2 separate regions of the Homo sapiens genome follow, and region 1 is linked to region 2. Evidence: promoter capture Hi-C in 16 types of primary human blood cells and fetal thymus (Javierre and others, 2016). All regions are on one chromosome and are shown on one strand. The core of a region is centred on a gene start or on the middle of the fragment in contact, and the rest is flanking DNA. Distances in the headings are between cores, read along the strand shown.

Evidence for each region. The method cuts DNA at HindIII sites, captures the fragments that hold promoters and counts their contacts. A CHiCAGO score of 5 or more calls a contact.
Region 1: a contact is called between the fragment with the promoter of ST7L here and the fragment with the promoter of TTF2 in region 2, in 1 of 17 cell types (fetal thymus). The highest score is 5.7, in fetal thymus.

What each region holds. Positions count from the first base shown.
Region 1 is chr1:112,617,361-112,624,452 of GRCh38, reverse strand. ST7L (suppression of tumorigenicity 7 like) reads left to right here and starts at 5,312. Exons shown (of 15, transcript NM_017744.5): 1 at 5,312-5,544. The coding sequence starts at 5,340. CAPZA1 (capping actin protein of muscle Z-line subunit alpha 1) reads right to left here and starts at 4,621. Exons shown (of 10, transcript NM_006135.3): 1 at 4,570-4,621. The coding sequence starts at 4,608. RefSeq lists enhancers at 4,339-4,788, 3,941-5,140, 5,249-5,348. The HindIII fragment of the contact is 828 bases long and covers 4,989-5,816 here.
Region 2 is chr1:117,057,262-117,063,762 of GRCh38, reverse strand. It overlaps TTF2 (transcription termination factor 2), which reads right to left and starts at 3,437. Exons shown (of 23, transcript NM_003594.4): 1 at 3,389-3,437; 2 at 3,206-3,308; 3 at 1,290-1,376. The coding sequence starts at 3,416. It overlaps CD101-AS1 (CD101 antisense RNA 1), which reads left to right and starts at 4,273. Exons shown (of 4, transcript NR_110786.1): 1 at 4,273-4,390. RefSeq lists an enhancer at 3,737-3,896 and a silencer at 4,317-4,366. The HindIII fragment of the contact is 4,450 bases long and covers 1-3,721 here.

The DNA of each region.
Region 1 (7,092 bases), core at 4,063-6,562, 4.4 Mb after region 2:
ATTTTTAATAGAGACAGGGTTTCACCGTGTTGGTCAGGCTGGTCTCTAACTCCTGACCTCAGATGATCTGACCGCCTTGGCCTCCCAAAGTACTGGGATTACGAGCGTGAGCCATCATGCCCAGCCCATAATACCTCATTTATAATCCACTAAATGGATGTCTCTACTCTGGTTTTTCATTCATACCTATATGGAAAAGAAAAGTATAGTGAAAAAAGCATGGCTACATAATCAGAAAAACCTGGGATCTGAATTTTCTGACAAATTTACACTACTTTGTTTAGCATTAAGCCTGGTCGTAATAAAACAGCTAAGTGTTCTGGAAGAAATTATGATAAATCAGTACTACTAACAAGACTGGACATGTGAGTTTGCACCTGCTTATTAGGCTTTATGCTCCTGTCCTAGGATTTCTTTTTCTTTTCTTTTTTCTTTTTTTTTTTTTTTGAGATGGAGTCTTGCTCTGTCACCCAGGCTGGAGTGCAGTGGCACAATCTCGGCTCACTGCAAACTCTGCCTCCCGGGTTCACACCATTCTCCTGCCTCAGCCTCCCGATTAGCTGGGACTACAGGCACCTGCCACCACGCCCGGCTAATTTTTTTGTATTTTTAGTAGAGACGGTGTTTCACTGCGTTAGCCAGGATCTCGATCTCCTGAGGTCAGGTCTCGATCTCCTGACCTCGTGATCCACCCGCCTCGGCCTCCCAAAGTGCTGGGATTACAGGCATGAACCACCGCGCCCGGGCTTTCTTTTCTTTTTTTTTTTTTTTGAGACGGAGTTTCGCTCCTGTTGCCCAGGCTGGAGTGCAATGGCGTGATCTCGGGTCACCGCAACCTCCGCCTCCCAGGTTCCAGCGATTCTCCTGCCTCAGCCTACTGAGTAGCTGGGATTACAGGCATGTGCCACTGCGCCCAGCTAATTTTTGTATTTTTAGTAGAGATGGGGTTTCTCCATGTTGGTCAGGCTGGTCTCAAACTCCCGACCTCAGATGATGCACCTGCCTCGGCCTCCCAGAGTGTTGGGGTCACAGGCGTGAGCCACTGGGCCCGGCCTGTCCTAGGATGTCTTAACAGATTATATGAATACCTCTCAGCAAAACTAACTGAAAAGTGAAGATGGAAGAATGACAGTTTTAATATTAATTGATGACTTGTTAGAAAACAGCCACACCAAACAATCTTTAGGGCTTGCTTTATCCTACAATGGTAACTAGTAAATTAAGGAGGTAATACATAATCAAGGATCCAGTTTAAAAGCATAAATATTTGGCAGGTGCAGTGACTCACGCCTGCAATCTCGGCACTTTGGGAGGCCAAGGCAGGCGGATCACGAGGTCAGGAGTTTGAGACTAGCCTGACCAACATATTGAAACCCTGTCTCTACTAAAAATACAAAAAATTAGCCGGGTGTGGTGGCAGGTGCCTGTAATCCCAGCTACTTGGGATGCTGAGGCAGGAGAATCACTTGAACTCAGGAGGTGGAGGTTGCAGTGAGCCGAGATCGTACCACTGCACTCCAGCCCGCTGGGAGACAGTGCAAGACTTCGTTTCAAAAAAAAAAAAAAAAAGTATAAAATATTTTTCATGTGCTCTAACAAAGCCCTCATATTTCATCTATTTACAACATTTTCTACTGCTCTACTAAATAATTTTGATAAACTTGTTTCTCAAAAATGCCTTAACACCACTACCATTGTCTAAACTGAAAGCATGTAGTTTTTCTTAATACTGAAAACTTTATCTTATTACTGAAAGCATTGTCTAAACTGAAAGCATGACTTCTCAATTACCATACTTTTGAAATTGTACACAAATATTCCACTAGTTAGGCTGAAGGGAAAAAATATGCTAGTCACACTTTTTTCCAGCCCCCCAAAATTCTCTTTGCTTTTATGTTTTACAAATGTTGAATGAAATAAAGGAAATAGACAATGAAAAGAACCCAAAGAAGTAATTCATCTCATATTTCAGGATTCCTAATTATAGTATCTTGGTCTTGCTAAGCATGTAACTAAAGAGCTCAAGTTCATTCTCAGAAACTGTGAACTCAAAGCTACAACTAAAAGATTTATTTCTAAAAGTTATTACACTTTCAACTTCCTGTTTTATTTAGACAGCTCATCATGACCATTTCAGGTAACAAAACCCAACTTCCTCTTTATAAAGTGATTAAAAAAACTTCAGCAGTTATGAGAATAGATGATATTACTAGCTTTTACATAAATATTTACAAGGAAACTAAGAGTCCATTATCACCAAATTTTCTAAAGGTTCACTGCCTTTAGAAAATGTAACAAAGATAAAAAACAATATTAAAATATACTTGGCAACAAAAAAAGTATGCTAGAAGAGGAAACTGGTCACAGATCTGCTATTAAAAAAAACAATACTGGCTGGGCTCGGTGGCTCACGCCTGTAATCCCAGCACTTTGGGAGGCCAAGGCGGGCAGATCATGAGGTCAGGAGTTCGAGACCAGCCTGGCCAACATAGTGAAACCCCGTCTCTACTAAAAATACAAAAAATTAGCCAGGCTTGGTGGCGGGCGCCTGTAATCCTAGCTACTCGAGAGGCTGAGGCAGGAGAATCGCTTGAACCAGAGAGGCAGAGGTTGCAGCGAGCGGAGATCGCACCACTGCACACCACCCCGGGTGACAGAGCGAGACTCCATCTCAAAAAAAAAAAAAAAAAACCATAACCCAAGACATTAATGTTATTAATTAAAACACTGCCAGTATCTAAAGGCATCTTAATTGGCATTTTAAAATATATATTTTCCCAAGTTTAATTAAAGGCATTCTAACCTGGTATCAAAGACAAAAATCCAACAACACTGGTCAATGTGTATCAGGTAGGCACAATAAACTTAAAAGTTTATTATTTAAATTATTTGTGAAATTTTGGCCGGCCGCGGTGGCTTACGCCTGTAATCCCAGCACTTTAAGTGGCGAAGACGGATGGATCGTTTGAGCCCAAGAGTTTGAGACCGGCCTGGGCAACAAGACGAAACCCACTCTCTACAAGAAATACAAAAATTAGCTGGACTTGGTGGCGGGTGCCTGTAATCCCAGCTACTCGGGAAGCTGAGGCAGGAGAATAATTTGAACCAGGGAGGCGGAAGTTGCAGTGAGCCGAGCGAGACTCCGTCTCAAAAAAAAAAAAAAATTGTTTAGTTGTATTGTAACAGGATTTTTGCTTAATTTTATTTGAATAGTAACTATTTGCCTTAGAACAATTTATTATAGATCGATTTCCAGCATAGGCTTATACATAAATGTTTTTGTCCTAAATCTTAAACATGTATGAAGATCAGTTTCCAAATAAGAGAAAATCTAACGCTGTTGTCAATGGCTTGTTAAACATTTCAAAATGGCATGCCATATCTACATATATCAAGTTATTCCGTACAGAGGACTTATGGATCATAACAGTCCCCTTCCCATCCCAACTTCTTATTGAAAAAAACACCCAGGTAGATTTACAGAGCACTCAAGGGGACACATTTTCTAATAGCCACAGTGGGAGACAAATGTCATAATTCTTGTCCAATAAGTTGCCTTGTGAGGTCATTCTAAGTTCTACGTGCCCTAAAACCATGTACTTACTGAAAAGCCTGACAAACTGTTATGAAACTGTGCAACTGTCAGAAGAAAAGTTATTCCACCTTAGAATGTGCTCTTGTATTTAAGACCCTTTTCAAGAAATGAGCATACAAAATGCACACTGACAAATTCAACTGATCAAAGACTCCACAGTGGAGCATCAAAGAAGGCAGGATGCTTTGTTCAGTCTTGAACGTGTTAACATAAGGTTTATTATGTGTTACAGAAAACCTTTCTGGAGGTTAAGAAAATCCATCAGCTATTCTAGATTTGTTAACAAGAAACAAAATTTTCAAAAATTATCGTTAAAAGGGATGTGTCTATAGGGAAAGACTGGTGTTCAAATTCTGAAGCAAATGCCCTGAGGCTCACAGATTTATTATAGCGAATCAGACAGGCGACAGTACAGGAGAAAAGTAGTGCATGTGTAGGGAGATGGACAACATTTGGGACCTCTCCTTGTCGAAGAGTCGTGACAGCAAAATCACTTCCTGAGGAAGGAGGAGCAAAAGGGAAGTTAAGAGGCCATCCTGACCAGGAAGTGACTCGCCCTAAACTAACCCCAATTATATCTACAAATGGGGGGATGGGGTGAGCCCCAACTGCTAAAGGCGGTAAAATAACTGCTTTTTGATATGTCGCAACATAACCACCACCCTCTCGCAAAATTACAGAAAAAAGTCCACAGTCACGATCCAATAAAGGAAACGTCTGTTCCCTTGCAGGGAGGCCCCTGGGCTGTGCCTCAGGCCTGAGAGAAAAGGAGAGTCGAGGAACGAGGAACTGGGGCCACCGTGAGGCAGAGGAAAGCCCCCTAAGAGGGAAGCGTCCCGACTGCGGAGAGCGTATGTCAGCATGGACCAAGAAGCTTCTTTTTCCTGGGGACACTGCTAGGCTCCCAACGCAGCCGGGCCGGGCCCCAGTTCCCTGTCGGGGGAGGAGGTAAGAGAGAGAGGCGGACCCCTTACCTTCTCCTCATCCGACACACGATCATCGAAGTCGGCCATCTTGGGCTGTTCTGGCCCAGCCCGGCTACGGGCGCGAGGCAGGCCGGGAAGAAAGCCGAGTGATGGAATCACCGCGGCGGCCGTCGGAAGGACCCGCCCGGAAACGCCGACCAAGAGGGCCCCATGTCAGTTATGCGCGGGAGTGACGTCTCCTAACGCCAGCGCCCGCGCCCGCGCCCCAGGAAGTAGGGTTTGCCTTAGGTGATTTGAAGTCTAATATCTTTCCCAATGAGTTACACTCATTTCCCATCCATCTAATGGGCGCTGGCAGCGTGTTTCGATTATTCTTGGCTTCTGGCCTCCATCCGACCAAATAGCTGTTGCTACTCCTACAAGTTTTTCTGGTGCCCGTTATCTCCACGACAGCCGAATCCAAAGCTTTAAGAGCTGCTCGGCAGCTGGAACGATCGGTGGCTTTTCCAACCCCGGGGGGGGGGCGGTGTGAAAGGTGACCCTCATTTCGTTTGGAAGCGGTAACACTTCGGGGTCACATCTCAGTCCAGTTCCTCCAGAATAGGCGCTGCTGTCCGCCCCTTCCCTGCCCCACGAAAGAACAGGTAGCCCCAATCTTGAGACACGCTCCTCCACCTTCGAAATCTTCTCGGTCCCGGTTCCCCAGGACTCAGCCTTCACAGAGGCCAACTTCAGGTCCGCCACTATCCCAGGATTCCCGACTCCCGGTTTCCTGTCCTTCTCCCCTCCCAGCTCCTGGCGCCTGCGATAGCGGCAAGATGGCGGACCGTGGCGGCGTGGGTGAAGCCGCAGCTGTTGGAGCGTCTCCTGCATCTGTCCCTGGCCTAAACCCGACGCTAGGCTGGAGGGAGCGACTGCGGGCCGGGCTGGCGGGGACTGGGGCCTCGTTGTGGTTCGTGGCGGGGCTGGGGCTGCTTTACGCCCTGAGGATCCCTTTGAGGCTGTGTGAGAATTTGGCAGCGGGTGAGAGGACCAGACCTCCTGGGGCAGGGCGGGGGGCCAGGAGAGATGTCGGGGGCAAGAGCCAAAGGGCAAGAGATTCTCGGTAGTCCTAGAGGGCCTCTGAGGAGTCGATGATGAGCGATCAAGTGAGTTCTTTTTCTTTTGGGCTGCAACCTTGCAGTTGATTGACAAGCCTGCTGCCGTTACCGGCTCCTCCGTAGAACTCTTAAGGTCCGCCCTCTCTCTTATGTCCTCGTTTTTCCATGGAAAAGCCACCTGACAAGCTATAAGCTTCAGGTATTAGGACAGAAGAGTGTCTCAGATTAGGATACGTAATTTATATTGGCTCCCCCACCTCTGGTAGGATCCCTTAAAAGTCACTACTTTGAGTCTCCCGCTGCCCAGCTGAAAGAACTCATATCCAGGCAACAAAGATGAGCACATCTGTAATTTAAAGATTTCAGAGAAAGAAAATGGCATGATTTTAATTGAGGATTCTCTTGTTTTAAAATAGTTCTGTTAAGAAATCGTTTTCGTGATAGTTTTGTCTGTTCTTTTAGGCTTATCTTGAGTAATAAAATAGTACAGGAAGTGAGAGCGCCACAAACAACAGTGGGTTTGCTAGTTCTTTCGACGTCTGTAGAACACTTGCTACGTATTCTGTGCTGACAATACGAACACATGTAAGAAGTGATGATCCTGATGGATTCTCATATACTGTACTATTCTTTAGCTGTAGACAGGATGAAGTGTTTAGGGCCCAGGTCCCCTTACCATGTGATTATATTTCACTCAAGATCTGAGCAGCAACCTCAGAACAAGATATAAGTATTTCCATTACATGATTCAGTATGGTGGTTGATTTTTCTGAAGCAAAAGGCAGCAAATGTCCCCTTTCCTGTTCAGAGATGACATGAAAGACTGTGAGTTAATGTTCGGAAATATTTTGGTTTTTTTGGAGGATAGGTATCAAGTTCAAATATAACTAGCACTCTAAAATAAGCTAAACTGAAGAGCTAATTTGGCATCTCTGTAACAGGTGAATGAAGTGCTTAACGGTGGTTTCTATGCACAGTGTTACTGATTGACTTGTCATTTATTTTTCTACGTTAACCATATGCAACATTTAGATGAGAATAGTTGATTACTATAGATTTTTCTTTTTTACGTTTCGTGTGTGTGTGTGTGTGTGTGTGTGTGTGTGTGTGTGTGAGAGAGAGAAAGACAGACAGAGTCTCCCTTTGTCACCCAGGCTGAAGTGTAGTGGCAAGATCACTGCAGCCTTGAACTCTTCTGCTTAAGCGATCCTCTGGCCTCAGCCTCCCAAGTAGCTGGGACTGCAGGCGTGCACCACCACGACTGGCTGAGTTTTAAATTTTGCGTAGAGACTGGGTCTATTTTATTTGCCCAGGCTGGTCTTGAACTTCTGGCTACCAGTGATCCTCCTGCCTTGGCCTCCCAAAACTCTGAGATTATGGGAGTGAGCCATCCTACCTGGCCAGATTTTTATTTTCTTTCTAAAACCCACAGTACTTATGAGATAATTATTTGAAGTGAAAAATCTGCTCC
Region 2 (6,501 bases), core at 2,188-4,687:
AAGTCTACAGGGGATAACTCTGTATTATTCCTTACAACTGTATGTGAATCTAAAACTACTTGATAAAAATTTCAATGCAAAAAAAAGGATAAAATATTTAAACAGATAACGTCGAGATTTTCTGATGGCAAATAGGCACACCAAACAAAGTGGTGCATTTATAAATGAAATTCAACTCCACAATAAAAATGAATGAATTACTGATACATATTATATACATTTCACATACTGTTAAGTAAAAGAAGTCAGACACAGAAGAGTACATGCAGTAGGATTTCATTTATATAACGTTCAAGAACAATCAAAACACATCTAAAGAGATAAAAATCAGAACAGTGATTGCTGACAGGGGTGGAGATGGGAGGGGTGAAATTAACTTGAAGGGGACTGATGGCACTTATTGGGGTAATATTTTGACTCGGATCTTGGTTTTATGAGCAGGTACATGCATTCTCAAAACTCAACTGGTTGAAATCTTAAGACTTGTGTATCTTACTATACATATAACTAAATTAAGAAAAATAGAAGTATGAACAGTACTCAGGTATATAAAAATTGTAGGTGGTACTCAAATGCCTTTAATTGGGTGGGGGGATCTAGAATATATAAATTATGAAGTGCATAGAATATCACACAAAGACCATCTATCACATCCTGACCCCTACCTTCCTGGCCAGCCTTATCGCCTAAAGTCTCTGTTTAAAGATATGTTAAACTATTAACAAATCAAATTTTCCCTGAAAATGCCATGTTAATTCATGCCTTAGTACTCTAATGCAATATATTAGTCCATTAAATATGACCTCTCTCTAACACTTAGGGAATTCCTACTTTATCTTTGAATACTCGTGACAAATATCTCCCAGCTCTATAGACTTCTCTGCCCTTCCCAAATTCCCATATAAAGGAAAAGAAACTAACATTTATTGAGGACTAAATATGTTTAGCCATTTTTACTCACTACCTTGTTCTATTACCAGAATTAGAAGATTGACAAGTTAAGGGCAAGTTAGTGGCCAATGGTCAGCTGTCATTATAGGCTACCTGACAGTTGGAGAGGGATGATTGTGGAGCCATTTACGTGAAAATTACTAGAAATCAGACTTCTCAGATTAACTAGCTGCTTGGTATTTAGGTAGTGACAGCCAAAAGACACTTAATACATATACAAATTTTGTTTTTTAAAATGACTTTTAAAGAACAATCCTAATACATACCTGGCTACAACTCTTTCAGGGAGAAAAAAAAAAAAAAGCAAATACACTTAGATGTTCCTTTTGGACCCTTACCTGTATTCTTTCTTGTCCTGTGGCAGAAGCAAACCCTGAAGCTCTACCACAAAGTCCTCATGCAATAAGCAATGGGAAACAGGAATGCTAGAGAAAAGAAAAAAGTTGAAAACATTTTTAGGTCAGGAACAGAGATCAATATCCTAAAGTCAAATCAAAACTATGGGTTTTTACACCAAGAATCTATGTATAACCTCTACTGGGTTTGTAATTCCCACACATTATCACAGCTATGGGCATTCCTTTGGGGAAGAAGTCCCTAGCTTTCATCTTTACCCACTTTCTCAAATAAAGCATAACTGTTTCTTGATGACTCAAAAGTTTAAAACCACACTGCACTGTGTAATCTCTACACTGGGATCCCCCTACGAATGACATAATTAGGGCTGGCTGTGAGGCCCTGTATGAATTTTCCCCAGGCTCTTCCCTTCATCCTTTCCCTCTAACAAGCTGAGAGCTGTCACTTAGTGTTATTCACACGCCTACCTCTAACAATACGCCCTATATGCTTCTTGTTTTGTGTAAGTTTTTAATCACTCCCTTCCAACTTATTATGAAAAAATTTAAATATATATAACATTTGAGAGTAAACAGGTTTGAGTGAAGGTTTAAAGTACTCTCCTAAACCTGTGGCACTTTTTTTGGCCTGTATATTGGTTATCAGATATAGTCCAAATAAATCAAGTTTATCAAATAATTGTCTTCAAATACCACTGTGCTAGTTTGTATAGCAAAGCATTTGTGTAGATGGGATCCTAAATAAGAGTGTTTCTCTTAATGTAAAACCAAATCTTATGCCACCATTAATGTTGAATTCCTGCAAAGGTAAAAATGCTTCTATCTCACAAAACTTGACCTGGGTACTATATCTGAGAGGCTCAGTGTAAATCATCTAACTCATGAAACAGAAACATGGGAAGTTAGTATACATGTTGAAAGGGCACTTTTCTAATACTGATATCCATTATGTACTCTACATCTGACACGGAGAAAAATAACTTTTCTCTACCAAGTTTTGCTGAATAGAGAGCAGGAGATGTTTAATGATGTGATGATAGTTTTAAAATTCACATAGAAAATGTAGACACTTGGTACTGTGAAAACATTAACACTTGACAAACTATTAACTTTCCTCACTTTAGAGAAGATGCTTAACATTTCTGACTCTCTCCTCCCACCTCAGCCTCACGAGTAGCTGGGACTACAGGCGTGTGATACCATGCCTAGACAATTTTTTTTAATTTTTCGTAGAGACGGGATTTCACCATGTTGCCCAGGCTGGTTTCGAACCCCTGGGCTCAAGCGATTCGCTCGCCTTCGCCTCCCAAAGTGCTGGGATTACAGGCGTCACACACCGCGCCAGGCCCTCCGTTGTTTCTTCCAGCGCTAATTTCTTTGAATTATCAATTTCACCATTTAGATGCAGAGAATCCTACTTAAAAATAAGAAGGCTAACAACTAATCACTAGAGTGTTTTAAGCTCAAACATTTAAAAAAAACCGTCGGGCCTAAAACTAGTGCAAAACAGGGACAAATTATTTTCCACTATGTCTGCTGTGTGTCCTTACTCCTTTAAAGGGGGAGGGACTGTCTGGGCAGGAGAAGGGAGTGGTTAAGGCCTGTCAAGTGAATAGAAACCCAGAGCTGGAAAACACCGGATCCTCAATTTTACAGGTAGGGGAACCATCGGCCCAGAGAGGGGGGTAACCAGCCTCGGGTCACACAGCCAGAATTAGCTGGGCGTCTTCCGAACACGCCACGCTGCCCTGGGATCACCAATTGCTTAAAGGGTCCTGACACCGCAAACTAGGGCCCCACCACTCCTCGGCCCTGTGACGCCCGACAGCGGGGAGCGGGAAGCTCCTCTCGGGAGGCCCCGGGCAGCCACAGGGAGTGGGGCCCAGCTCCAGACCTACTCGGTGGCCCGCACGAAGCTGCACGTGTCTGCCCGGCACACGTAGAAGCTCTTTCCTTTATTCGGGCCATCGCGGACGCCGGTCTTAAGAAAGCAGAAAGTCCCTGAAGAGAGAAGAAAGTGAACAACGATTACGCCACGCTAAATCAACAGGCCCCGGGACGCTGAGACCCTAGCCCCTTACCGTGCTCTGGACACCTAACTTCTTCCATTTCGCTGGGTCCCCCAAGTTCCACAAAGCCCCGCCCCCAATTCTGCTTCCGCCTTTTACTCCGCCCTCTTTGTTCAGGAACCAACCATCACTCAGCTCTTGCAGTCTTAATCCCTCCCATAATTCTCCGCCCTTGGCCTTCACCCGTCCTAGCCGCTATCAGCCAATCATATAGGAACTTCGCTCACCTCCAACCAATCACAGCTGCCCTCAGGTATGGCGCGCGCCGAAATCAAATACGGAGCCAGGGGGCGTAAAGGACCCGGCTTTTGCAGGCTGGGGCGTGGCTGAGGCTGGGGAGAAGCTTAGAAGGTGGCGGGGCTTCTGGAGGAAAAGAAGCTTCGATTTGCAGGTCTTGGAAGACGGAAGGGCAACTCTTGTTTACGTTTAAAACCGAGAGGCGGCCCTAGGGGTAGCGCCAGTTAGCAGGCGCTGAAAGGCCCTGGCTTCGTGGGTGTCTCTGAGCCAGGCTGGCGCTCGTGCGCGCTGGGCTCCGCGCTCAGTCGCTGGGGTGGGAGGCCAGGGGAAGCCGCCGCTGCAGGCCGAGCCGCGAGATTTGCAGTGCAGGAGCCGAAGCGGCGGGCATGGTGGGAGGTCCTTGGAAGCTGCTGCGGGGAACTGAAACGGCTCTGATAGGCAGGCACAAAGACTTCTCTAGGACCCCCTACAATGCTTTACGTTTGCCTCGTGCTTTAGATTTCACAAAGTGCTTACACATAACACGACCCTCCTCACTCGACCTGGTGAGATGGGTAGCATTTTGTGGAAGATTCCGAGACTCAAGTTTGAGAGACTCACCCAAGGTCAGAGTTGGCGAGTGGGCGGTCCGTGGACAGGTGCGCAGGTCTCAGCGCCATTTGGCCCGCGCTGCTGCTTCCTGTGTGTACTGGATGTTCTCTAGGCTCGCCCAGCGTGGAAGCCCCGAGTTACCAGCCGCAACGTGGAAACCACAGAAGGGGAAATAGATGACTTTTGGTGAAGGCGAATTTTACTTTATCATTTTGTATTGTCAAACTTTTTTTTACTATTATGCTTTTGTAATTTTAAAAATCGAAGACGAGGTTAAATAGAAGAAAGGGGACAGTTCCCTTCTATTTAACTTCATCCTCGATTTTTAAAATTTGAAGTTGTAATCAAAACTATTAGTAAACAGAGAGGAATAGATATTAGATTTATTGCAATAGAAATAGTTTCATATTGCAGCTATTGAGGACCATATGTCCCAGACATATGGTGTGGCACCTGCACTGTTCTTATGGGGGCCGTAGAACAGAAAATCTGTAATGTCTAGGAAATCTGGGCGATGTGATAAATGTACATGTTATGGGGATCCGGAGGAAGGGAGACAAACCTGAGGTATCATTTATTAATTAAACAGTACTTACTAAATAGCTTTTTTGTGCCCGTTGTGGACTAGGTGCTTGAGAAATGTAAAATTCATTCATTCACACACACAAAGTTTGAAACAACTATTCTAAGCACAAGGAACTTACTCAGTATTTTGAGGAGACTGAACTAGTACATGTTGAACACTTAAATAACAATATAAAATAGTATTTAAATGTCAAAATGAATGGAGTTAGCAGTAACTCTCTAGGACTAGAGAAAAATGGAATTTCCAAAGTGAAGTTCCTTTATACATAACTACCCTTCCGAAACTTAGATGAACTTAGAGATAAGACAGGAACAACAAATAGGTAGAAGCATTTTCATTATTCCAAGATTGTTATTCTTGCAAATGATGTATTTGTACATGTTTAATAGATGCTGTATTGGAGGTAGTATACCATGAATACAGGATTTGCAGAAAGAGGGGCATGGTAATTAATTATTTCTTGAATAATTTTCGAAACAAGGCAAAATCGGGGCCTCTTAAATATCCCGTTAAGGAAGAAGCTCCTCCTCTGCAAGTACCCAAGTCGGTATCTCCAGTCCAACCTCACAAAAGTGTGCACAGCCAAATCACAGACAGGAGGAATATTTCTTCCATAAATTAAAAATATACTAGATCAAAATGTTAAGTCCCTGGACAACTTATTCCACCTCATCATATTTACAAGATTGAAAAAAATAAGTTTGAGATTGGACGAAAGATGGTCATAACTGGAAACATTTTTAAAATTAATTTTTATGCCCGTTGAGTATGGTGGTGGGCACCTGCGGTCCTAGCTACTCAGGAGGCTGAGGTGGGAGGATGGCTTGAGCCCACAAGTTTGAGGCTACAGTGAGCTGTGATTGTGCCACTGCACTCTAGCCTTGGTGACAGAGTGAAACTTTGTCTCTTAAAAAAAAACTTATGCCTATTGAAATAAATAATAATGAATTATACAACATACACTTTTCAAAATATACACATGTATTGGTGTATGTGTATTAATTTTTATTCTTAATTTATATTTTAAATTTATATTGTTAATTAGCCTACAGACCCCCGGAGAGACCTTGGGAGAATGTGCTTTATGGATCTCTATTTTGAGTAAAGTTTAGAGTTTGTTTTTCCTTAAAGCTTGATTTATTCAAAATAATGTCTAGGCTGGGTCCTAGATTTAGATGGCTTAAAATGCACAGGTTAATTATCCAATAAATTTGTTCAGTATGGAGCTGGTCAAATGCAAAGTATATGTTGGAATTGTTCTAAAACTGGATTGTGGTAATGGGTGCACAATTGATTAAATTTACTAGACTCTTTGAATTGTACACTTTAAATAGGTGAATTCTATGACATCTAAATTATACCTTAATAAGGCTGTTTTAAAAACTAAGCAATGCCAAAATACCTATCTGCTGCATTGAAAGTAATAACTAAAATTGGTCATCTAGATATGTTGACATCCTTAAGGAAACATCCTAATGGGTGAAGAAATAAAGTGGTAGTAGAAACCCTTCGGTTACAGAAGCAGACTGGTTCTTTGACCTGTGAAATATTGAATAAAATCCAGGGTAGGCCAGACAAGGTGGCTCATGCCTGTAATCCCAGCAGTTTGGGAGGCTGAGGTGGGTGGATCACTTGAATCCAGGAGTTTGGGACCAGCCTGGGCAACATGGTGAAACTCCATCTATACAAAAAATAAAAAAATTATCCAGGC